3 separate regions of the Homo sapiens genome follow, and regions 1 and 2 are each linked to region 3. The links are contacts of gene promoters, found by promoter capture Hi-C in blood cells and fetal thymus (Javierre and others, 2016). All regions are on one chromosome and are shown on one strand. The core of a region is centred on a gene start or on the middle of the fragment in contact, and the rest is flanking DNA. Distances in the headings are between cores, read along the strand shown. Region 1 overlaps MARF1 (meiosis regulator and mRNA stability factor 1). Region 2 overlaps RBBP6 (RB binding protein 6, ubiquitin ligase). Region 3 holds the start of VPS35L (VPS35 endosomal protein sorting factor like).

Evidence for each region. The method cuts DNA at HindIII sites, captures the fragments that hold promoters and counts their contacts. A CHiCAGO score of 5 or more calls a contact.
Region 1: a contact is called between a fragment that was not itself captured here and the fragment with the promoter of VPS35L in region 3, in 1 of 17 cell types (fetal thymus). The highest score is 10.7, in fetal thymus.
Region 2: a contact is called between a fragment that was not itself captured here and the fragment with the promoter of VPS35L in region 3, in 1 of 17 cell types (fetal thymus). The highest score is 5.3, in fetal thymus.

Annotation. Positions count from the first base shown.
Region 1 is chr16:15,637,270-15,640,872 of GRCh38, forward strand. It overlaps MARF1 (meiosis regulator and mRNA stability factor 1), which reads right to left. Exons shown (of 27, transcript NM_014647.4): 2 at 1,821-2,022. The coding sequence starts at 1,964. Among named protein-coding and RNA genes, the nearest start is that of MARF1, 4.1 kb to the right of the region's middle. The HindIII fragment of the contact is 6,127 bases long and covers 1-3,603 here.
Region 2 is chr16:24,542,052-24,545,688 of GRCh38, forward strand. All of the region lies in intron 1 of RBBP6 (RB binding protein 6, ubiquitin ligase), which reads left to right. Among named protein-coding and RNA genes, the nearest start is that of RBBP6, 4.3 kb to the left of the region's middle. The HindIII fragment of the contact is 1,332 bases long and covers 898-2,229 here.
Region 3 is chr16:19,554,112-19,557,729 of GRCh38, forward strand. VPS35L (VPS35 endosomal protein sorting factor like) reads left to right here and starts at 1,592. Exons shown (of 31, transcript NM_020314.7): 1 at 1,592-1,635. The coding sequence starts at 1,619. RefSeq lists enhancers at 1,187-1,666, 1,226-2,188, 2,047-2,276. The HindIII fragment of the contact is 7,423 bases long and covers 1-2,373 here.

The DNA of each region.
Region 1 (3,603 bases), core at 810-3,309, 3.9 Mb before region 3:
CCTTCACAGGCTGACTGCAAGAGACATTAAGATGAAGAGGGGGCCCTGCTACAGTGACTGAGACGTGCTCACCGTTCACAGCATATGAGGGTCCATCTGACGCCTAAAATTCCACTCCCTTTGCTGTGATTCTACACTCACCTGGGAGCATAGGCTCATCTGGAAGAAATGTGAATTTTCAGCTAAACTTTCCCTAAAAGGGAGATAACAGCAACGGGCTGACCAGCCAATGAACTGCCCTCTTGGTAATTATAGTTCAGACTGAAATTAACACACTGGTATTCTGATTTATACAGATCAGGCTCATACAGGCAGGCTTACTATGAGTTGATCCCCTGAACCTACTCCATTCTGCATGCCACTGACAAAATTGAGTTTCAAGATCTGTAAAGTTGACCGTGTAATTCTGAATTGTGTGACTCCATGAGGACCAGATCTACCACCCCATCCCAGGAAGCCTTGCTTTTGATGCCAACCCTCACTGTCAACTGTCTCTAAAATAAAACACTCCTAAAATGACCCAAATTACTTGATGTCTTGCAACAAAGACAACTATATAGTGAAAACCTAGAGAAAATAGAGAATTAAACTGGTTTTTAAAAAGTTATTAATACCCGGCCAGGCGCGGTGGCTCACGCCTGTAATCCTAGCACTTGGGAGGCCGAGGCGGGTGGATCACCTAAGGTCAGAAGTTCAAGACCAGCCTGGCCAACACGGTGAAACCCCATCTCTACTAAAATACAAAAATTAGCCAGGCATAATGGCGAGTGCCTGTAAACCCAGCTACTAGGGAGGCTGAGACGGGAGAATCCCTTGAACTAGGGACAGTGGTTGCAGTGAACCCGGATCGTGCCACTGCACTCCAGCCTAGGGGGCTGAGCCGAGACTCTGTCTCAAAAAATAAAATCAAATAAAAGTTGTTAATACCCTTATATAAAATTATATTACAGTCTCACTTGAATCCCACATACAATAGAAAATAAGAAATAGAAAGGTGGTAACATGAGTGCATGAAGTCAGGAAATGTCAAAATTGGCTGGACGCGGTGGCTCACGCCTGTAATCCCAGCACTTTGGGAGGCTGAGGCGGGAGGATCACTTGAGGTCAGGAGGTCAAGACCAGCCTGGCCAACATGGCGAAACCTCGTCTCCACTAAAAATACAAAAATTAGCCAGGCATGGCAGCACAGGCCTGTAATCCCAGCTACTGAGGAGGCTGAGGCAGGAGAACTGCTTAAACCTGGGAGGCAGAGGTTGCAATGAGCCGAGATCGCACCACTGCACTCCAGCCTGGGCCACAGAGCAAGACTGCACCTCAAAAAAAAAAAAGAAAATGTCAAAATCACAATGAGTAAGCAAGAAGTTAGAGACATAAATGTATACTGAGAAGTAAATATTCAAGAGAAATCTCGAAATAAAAAACAGGCAGTGGATAAGCTCTTCCCAACCCTTCCTAGATTATAGACTCAAAACTCAAGAGGGCTACAGTAAAATACAACATATTTTGTATTTTCCTCTGATTTTACTCCACAATGTGGATTTTTAATCTTTGTTACCTGTGACTTTAATGAGGAAGAAATCTTTCCCAAATTTTAACATTAAATATTCAAGGCATCTACTGTTACTCAAAGTGAAATAGAAGAGTTAAAAAATTGTGCTGTGCTCTCACATTATAATGTGGTATAAGAGGCAATACAGGCAAGATCTACAGAAAAATGTGGCACAGACTCTAGGATGAGAGACTGTATCCCAGACCAAATGGACCTCTCTCATCTATTTGGATGAGGAATCTGCTACATCCTTAGTCTTGCATATAGTTACCGTTTGGGGACTATGTGGCAGCGTCTGCTCAGGACGAGAAAAGCAATTAGAGAATTTCCAAAGCCATGGCTTAGCATCATTATCTTGTTGAAGCCATCCACGTGTTCTACTGCAGGAGTTCTCAGTTCCGTTTCCTTCCATCATACAGCCATGCAAAGTGATTCAACATCCTTTCATCTTTCTTTTCTTTCATTCTTCCACCCTGTTAAGAATGAGTAAGATTTCAGTGTTATTTCCTTGCATAAGTACAAATTTTACAACATACTAAAATGTGAAACCACAGCTATATTTACAGTCCTATGGCTCTCAACAATTCAAATCTTTGTTTCAAGAGGAAGTCTCGCTCTGTCGCCCAGGCTGGCATGCAGTGGTACGATCTCAGCTCACTGCAACCTCCGTCTCCCGGGTTCAAGCGATTTTTCTGCCTCAGCCTCCAGAGTAGCTGGGACTACAGGAGCCTGTCACTATGCCTGGCTAATTTTTATATTTTTAGTAGAGATGGGGTTTCACCAAGTTGGCCAGGCTGGTCTTGAACTCCTGACCTCAAGTGATCCACCCTCCTCGGCCTCCCAAAGTGCTGGGATTACAGGCATTAGCCACTGCGCCCGGCCAACAATTCAAATCTTAACAAACAAAATAATAATAATAAAATAAAGAAAGAAAAAAACACAAAATATCAGAGCATATTACGGGTTAATAAAATTTGGTAAACTTGGTTGACTGTTTATGCTTAAAATCTAACTGCAACAACCTGATTTCTTAAAAAATCTATAATCTGCCATTCTTCATGTTTCATAGCTCTTCAAATAAAAAATGAACTCTCCATGAGTCTTGTTTCCTTTCCACATGTAACCATGTTTGAGAGAGGTAGCCATATCTTGGAAACTTGCATATTCCAGAGTGAGACTTCACCTCCTCACTTGGCTGGAATCAATTTTTTCTACAGTTTTTCTGAATTCTTTTCGGCTCTCTCTCCCTAAAGATGCTGCTCAGGAAAGTCAAAAGTTAACAGAAGAGAGCATCTAATCTGAGTAAAAGAGCCACCACCACATCCTCATTGACAACTATATGTAAGATTTTAAAATTGACTTAAGAGCAACTTCTTGCACTGGTTTCTTGATCTGAGCATGAAAAGTCCAAACTAAGTGGCCTCTGTGGACTTTGAATTTGATTTGCTACAGAACAAATTGAACCAATTTCTTAGTTTACTAATGATGAAAGTGCAATCTGATATACCACCAAAAATCTAACTGATAGAAAAATCTCAAGTCGCAGATGTGTTATATCTACGCCAGAGCAACAACACTCTTACAGGTCTTAACAATAAATGCAAGCGAGGCACCGTGGCTCAGGCCTGCAATCCCAGCACTTTGGGAGGCCAAGGTGGGTGGATTGCTTGAGCCCAGGAGTTCCCAACCAGCCTGGGCAACATGGCAAAACCCCATGGCTACAAAAAATTAGCTGAGCGTGGTGGTGCATGCCTGTAGCCCCATCTACTCAGGAGGCTATGGTGGAAGAATCACCTAAGACTGCGTAGTCAAGGCTGCAGTGAGCTGTGATTGCACCACTGCACTGCAGCCTGGGCGACGGAGTGAGACCCTGTCTCAAAAACCAACAAACAAAATTACATGAAATTAAAATGTCAGTGTCCATAAATAAAGTTTAATTGGGACACAGACACACTCATTCACTTAAATACTGCCTATGACTGCTTTTGCATTCCAATTGCAGAGTTGCAAAGAGAGTCTCTGCAAAGAGACTGTATGGCCCACAAAGCCTATAT
Region 2 (3,637 bases), core at 314-2,813, 5.0 Mb after region 3:
TGCTCAAATGATATTATGTGAAAATACTGTCTGCTTCCCCACCTTTTAAAAACAAGTGTCATACCCTTTGATAATTGGAGCTATGTGTAATCCTCTGCCTAAGGAGAGGAAAAACTGGTGGTGGTCATGAACAGTTGAGAAATAGCTTTATTTAAGTGCCTCACAAGCATCCCTTAACTACAACAGTCACATTTCACAGAACAGATGGGTTTATAAGAAGTTTGGGCCATCTTGACATATTGAGTATTTATGAATGAGAGGAGAGACAATATGAATGGAATTAAAGGATATTAAGGCAATTTTAATCGTCATATATTCAGGTTTCATATTTTACTGGAGTATTACACAATCGAATCATTAGGGCTAGGCGTTATCCATCTTTTCGACCCAACAATTGAATGCAGCTTTTTTTTTTTTTTTCCCCTGAAACAGAGTCTCACTCTGTCACCCAGGCTGGAGTGCAGTGGCACCATCTTAGCTCACTGCAACCTCCGCCTCCCTGGTTTGAGCGATTCTCATGCCTCAGCCTCCCAAGTAGCTGGGACTACAGGCATGCGCCACTACACCCAGCTAATTTTTTTTTGTATTTTTAGTAGAGATGGGGTTTTGTCTTGCTGGCCAGGCTGGTCTCGAACTCTTGGCCTCAAGTGATCCACCCACCTGGGTCTCCCAAAGGGCTGGGATTACAGGCATGTGAATGCAACTTTAGACTGGGTAAGTTATAGTTAAAAGAATCCTGTCCGGAAATTTAAGAGTTTTGTGACTTTGTGTAACCAATTTTTTTTTCCTAGCCCAGGAAATAAATGATACGTAATTCAAACCCAGAAAGCCAGGAATGTGTTTTTGCCCAGCACATTTTCTTTTTTATATTTATGTGAACTGCCCTTTATTGGAGAAAGCTTTGATGTTCGGTTTGTTAAGAAAAGGGAGCTTTGAGGGAGAAAATGTGTATTTTATGCAGTCCTCAAATTAAGAGAGAAAGAGATATTGATGGTAGCTACTTAACTAGTTTTATGGGAAATAGTATCCAATGTCACAAGGCAGTTGAGTAGAATGCCATTTGGTTTTAGCACCGATATTCAACATATTTACTAAAGAAAACTATGGTAATCTTTTTATCACAGTTAAGGTCCAGTTTCTTAATTTCATTCTTATAATTTTAAAATCCCTAATCTACCATGTTTCTGTAAAACATTTCCTTACAGTTTTGGAATTATGTGCATGTTTAGGTCCCTTAAATCTTTTTTTTTTTTTTTTTTGGAGACACATCCTCACAGGCTAGAGTATAATGGCACAATTTTGGCTCATTGCAGCTTCAACCTACCAGGCCCAGGTGATCCTCCCACCTCAGCCTCCCAAGTAGCTGGACTACAGCCACACACCACCATGCCTGGCTAATTTATTGTAATTTTTTTTTATTTTATTTTGGTAGAGATGGGGATTTTGCCATGTTGCCCAGGCTGGTCTCCTGAGCCCAAGTGTTCTCCTGCCTTGGCCTCCCAAGGCCATCCCAAAGTGCTGGGATTATAGGCTTGAGCCACTGTGCCTGGCATAGGACCCTTAAATCTTGATAAGACTGAAACGCTTGGGTCAGAATTCCATGGATTTTAGACAAGAATCCTGCTTGTTTCTAGACTGTATTTCAAAATGAATATCAAGTAATCTTTGTTATATATGAGAAACTTTTCTGCACACCGACCCCTAAAAAACAAAACATCCTTCGTTCTGAAATTAAAGTGTGAGAGGTTTGGAAGCTGAATATGAAGTGTTTATAAATGACCCTTGTCACCTTTCTTACTCTCCATTTCTCGGATTCATTCTGTTTTTCATTTCATCCATGCCTTTCATGTCTGGGGTCAAAAAAACTGGCAAGCAGAAAGGGTCTTTTGAAGCCAACAGACTACTTGTTAAGGAGGTATTTTAAATGAAATACCCCCAAAGTGTCTTTATTACCCCTAGAAAGATACTTTGAGGGGTAAGAAATCATTGTAATTCAGGTATTTAAAAAGTCAGTTAGAACATCTGTTTTGAAGGGCATTGAGGCACCTTTTAGTTTGACACAGTACGGTGCTAATCAAATTAATAAGCTGTCTTGGAAAGCTCTTGTGAGTGCATTGAGTTGTTACATATTCAGAAACTTCCTGTCAGGTGTTTGACACAAAGTTTTATTTCTAGAATTAACTTTTAAAAAAATCTAGTCACCCCATGCTCTCAGTTTTTCTGACTCAAAGCTTCCTCGGAATTTGGGGCTATCATGAACTGTCCAAGATAAAGATTATAGTCCTACATTGGCATGCCTAAATCTAGGAAATTGCCTACCTCTAATTGAATGCCTGTGAGATAGTGCCTTCTACTTGAAGTATATAGAAAATAACCCTTGCCTGAACAATTTCATTTCTAACAATACTATTAGCATTATGACTAAAAATAATTAATATACATTAAAAGCCGAATATGCCTACATATGTGGTAAGCGTAATAATCGGAAGAACAGAGATAGTCACTTTGTGCAGAGTAACTTTAAGTGAAGCAAGTAAACTTAATGACAATAAAAAGGCCTGGTTGTGTGATTAAAGGAGATGGATACATTTTTGCATCTCTAGGTAATTTTTCTTTTTGGTAATTTTACAGATTCTTTCTGTAGCAAATCTTTTTACCATAGTTAAGGTCCATTTTCTTAATTTCATTCTTATACAAGTATTGCAAATAGCCCAAGGAGTGTAAAAATAGGATCCATTCTTCTCCCTCTTGGTTTTCCCAGAAGGTGACATCACTGTTTATCCGATGACTGAAGCCAGGAACCCAGGGATTCCTCTGGCCTGATTCCTCTTTCTTCTTCATTTCCTTCATCTCCCCCATATTCGGTCCATCAGCAAGCTTTGTCAATCCTACCTGCAAACATTCTGTCTTTATTTCTCACATCATAACACAGGTCGTCATTATCTCTACCTGGATTTTTTAGCAGCCTGGTTATTAGTCCCCTGGTTTCTACTCTTGTTCTCCTACAGTTTGTGCTCCACATTGGTGCCACAGTAGTCTTTTTTTGAGACAGAGTCTTGCTCTGTCACCAGGCTGGAGTGCAGTGGCGCGATCTCGGCTCACTGCAGCCTCCCAGGTTCATGCCATTCTCCTGCCTCAGCCTCCTGAGTAGCTGGGACTACAGGCGCCCACCACCAAACCTTCCTAATTTTTTTGTATTTTTAGTAGAGATGGGGTTTCACCGTGTTAGCCAGGATGGTCTTAATCTCCTGACCTCGTGATCCGCCCCCCTCAGCCTCCCAAAATGCTGGTATTACAGGCGTGAACCACCGCGCCTGGCCAGTAGTCTTTTTTTCTTTAACAAAAAGCAAATAATCACTTTGCTTAAAATCCTTCAGTGTCTTCCTGTTGCACTTCAAAACAAAATATAAATCAGTGTATGGTCTATACCTTTCTGTCATTCTTTTCTTTTATTTTCTTAGGCTCTTCAAGCCGTTTCGTATCATTTTTCTACATGCTTTTTTTATCCTTTGCCTGAAATAGTCCTCAACCAGTTTTTTTCCTGTATCTGGCTGGGTTCTCAGTCTTTAAGTATCCAGTAGAAGTTCCTCCAAGGGGCTTTCTTGGAATCAACATTCTATCTGAAGTTGTATTCCAC
Region 3 (3,618 bases), core at 342-2,841:
CTGGCCAACATAGTGAAACCCCGTCTCTACTAAAAGTTGGACTTTTCAGAAGGTAAAACTCAGGCTGGAAATGTCTTAACTTATTAAGAGATAGAAGCCTGCTAAGGGAAGGAGAGGGAGAAAAGAGAATGCGAAGGTTGAAGCTCACATCAAAGCTGTTAATTTGCACAACTTTAAGAATCCTCCTCTTGTTACTGCCTAATCATGCAGTGTGAGCCTAGGAAAAGGCTCCTCACCTTGACCTCTTATTGAGATGTTGCATGTGATAACATGCATGGCTGTATGGGAAGAGCTCCTTGCTTTCCCGTGGCCACCCTTTAACCCTTGTTCACTTCCAGTGTTGGGAATAGCAGGTACGAGTGGATATACTTTCCTACTCATACTGAGCTGAACACTGGAGGGCCCGTTCTGGAGATGATCCTTTTCCCTGTCATAGGTCACCATCTCATGAACAACCACAGACCACCACCCCCGAATGAAAAGTAAGAGTTATAAAAACATCGAATGCTTTCTCTCTAAGGGACCATAATGGATATCTAAGTAAGTTATAAAAGTAATAATTAAAAAAAAAATTTTTTTTTGAGATGGAGTTTCGCTCTTGTAGCCCAGGCTGGAGTGCAATGGCGCAATCTCGGCTCACTGCAACCTCATCCTCCCGGGTTGGAGCAATTCTCCTGCCTCAGCCTCCCGAGTAGCTGGGATTACAGGCGCCCGCCACCATACCCAACTAGTTTTTGTATTTTTTAGTAGAGACGGGGTTTCACCATGTTGGCCAGGCTGGTCCCGAACTCCTGACATCAGGTGAACCACCCACCTCGGCCTCCCGAAGTTCTGGGATCATAGGCCTGAGCCACCGCTCCCGGCCTAAAATAATTTTTAAAAACGTTCTGTGGTCGAAATGGATATCCACCTTCCTAGAAACACTGCTTTGCCAAGTTGGACGAAATGCGAACCCTAATTTCCCCACGTGCATTAGCTGTAGTCAATCATATTAGATCTAGGGCAGCCCTCGGTTGCTAGTCGTGGGAAGGGCATTCTGCAAGTGTCTAAAACCGCCCGCAAAGCAGTGGGTAAAGCAGCGGCCTAGAGGGGGCATGGCTGTCCCACGCCAAACAGCGTATTAGCCGCAAAACCAGGTACTGGCTGAACCTCAGTTTGCGTCTTCGCTCCGCCGCCTTCTGGAGTCCTTTCTGCCCCTAGAGGACGCAGGTGAGCTAAGCAGCAGTCATGCCCTTTACCATCATGACGCCCGCAGGCGGGACCACCCGGCACTGTAGACAGCTGCCCTTTACAATCATGACTCATAGAAACTACGGCACTCTGGCCGTGGCCGACGTTGCTCCTCCGAAGCATGGCGCCGGCGGGAGTTGTAACCCGGGCTGTCCGGAGCGGGGAGCTGCCCCTCACAAGCATGGCGTCAGCTGAAAATGAAGCCTGTGCTGTGCGGAGCGTCGCCTGCCCCTCACAAGCATGGCGTCTGCAGAAGGTGCTGTGCGGCCGCTGCGGGGCGGCCAGCTGCCCTTCACAAACATGGCGGCCGAGGGGTGCGGGGAGTGGCGGGGTAAGGATGGGAAGCCGAGCAGACGGCCCCAGAACAAGCGGTCATGTGACTGGGAAGATGGCCGTCTTTCCTTGGTAAGGAAGCAGCGGCGGGTGGGCTTTGGAGAGGGGCTGTCCTTACTTGTGATGGGGTCGGCCTGGGTCTGAGAGTGTGAATTCCTCTCTGTCGGGTTCTGGTGGTCGACCGGCCACCCCCAAGTTGTCTTGACCGTAGAATCCCTGGCCGCTACCGCGGTCCAGCGGAGCAATCTGAAGCCAGACTGGCGGGTTCTTGGTTCTCTCCCCGTCTGCTGCCTCTCTGCGCCTTCCACGGGCCCCTGTCCATTCATTCCCTAAAGAAAACTTGAGTTTCCAGGCTTCCGCGTCCCCAGAAGTTGGCGCGGGTTCTGGGGTCGCTGGATGAGGGTAATGGTGGACTCAGCTTTTAAAGTCTGGACGAGTCGGGAGATCTGGCTGTTGGTCAGTTTCCTCAGCTCCTCTGTTCACCTGGAGACTTGCTTTTCTCATCTGTAAAATGGCCGCCATTCATCCTATCCTAGGCACAGCCCTCAGACTTATTCCTTGGCCTCAAGGAGCTGACAGTATAATGGGGCAGACGCACAGTAGAGGGATGTCTAAAGAAGGCATTCGGATGAGGCACCAAGAAGGGAGTGATTATCCCCACCAGGGGGCTAGGGGAAGGCTTCAGAGAGGAGGAGTTAAATTGGGTCTTGGAGGATGAATAGGAGTCCACCATAGGGAGGGCGTGGCGTGTGCCTGGTTGGCAGGCCCGTAGGTCCCTTGTGGTTGGAGTAGCTAGGAATGAGTGACTGAAGCTTCAGGGTTCAGCAGGTGGTATGTGTGTGAGTGAAGAACTTGAGGAAGTTGTGTTGTTGATGATAGTGGGATTTGGGGACGGGGAATCTCTCCTGCATCTCAGAAAGCGAGATAATTTACTTTCTCTTCAAATGATGTGAAGTAGCTTAGATTAAATGAGCAAATGAAAGACCTTAGAAATAATCAGGTACAACCTTCTGCTTTTGAGCTTGATAAACACTTCATTTTGTCTTATTCCTTTCATTTGCCCAACACTTAAGAGACTGCTTCCTTGACACGCTACATCAGCATTGAATGCCTCTGAGCACTTCCACACCCTGAGGTTTTTTTTTTTTTTTCAGTTAATAGTCATGCTGGCTGGGTATGGTGGCTCACGCCTGTAATCCCAGCACTTTGGGAGGCCGAGGCTGGCGGATCACCTGAGGTCAGGGGTTCGAGACCAGCCTGGCCAACATGGCGAAACCTAATCTCTACTAAAAATACAAAAATTAGCTGGGCTAAATTAGTGGTGGCACGCACCTGTAATCCCAGCTACTTGGGAGGGTGAGGCAGGAGAGTCGCTTGAACCTGGGAGGCGGAAGCTGGAGTGAACCGAGATCATGCCACTGCACTCCAGCCTGGGCAACAGTGAGACTCTGTCTCAAAAAAATAATAATAAAAAATGAAAAAGTCATGCTGGCTTGACCAAAAAGCTAACCAAAAACATGAGAAACATTTGACTTCAGTGGATTTATCTGAAGTTTGCAATCAGAAAATCCAGGAAGATGCTGTCTTAATCTCTGCATCCCAGTACATTTCTACCTTTGGAATTTTAATTTTATATTACAAGCAGGCAAACAGGTGCCATAACGCTTTTAGTATTTAGGGTCTCTATAGTTCCTAATATGGCCGTGCTCTAAATATTTTGTTGTTGTTGTTTTTGTTGAGACGGAGTCTCGCCCAGGCTTGATTGCAGTGGCGTGATCTTGGCTCACCGCAACCTCCGCCTCCCGGCTCAAGTGATTCTTTGCCTCACTCTCCCGAGTAGCTGGGATTACAGGCGATGCCACCACACCAGGCTAATTTTTGTATTTTTAGTAGAGACGGTGTTTCATCATGTTGGCCAGGCTGGTCTCGAACTCCTGACCTTAAGTGATCCGCCGACCTCGGGTTCCCAAAGTGCTGGGATTACAGGCGTGAGCTACCACACCCGGCCCGTGCTCTGAACATTTCCTTTTGAAGTATGCATTCATCTTTCAGTTT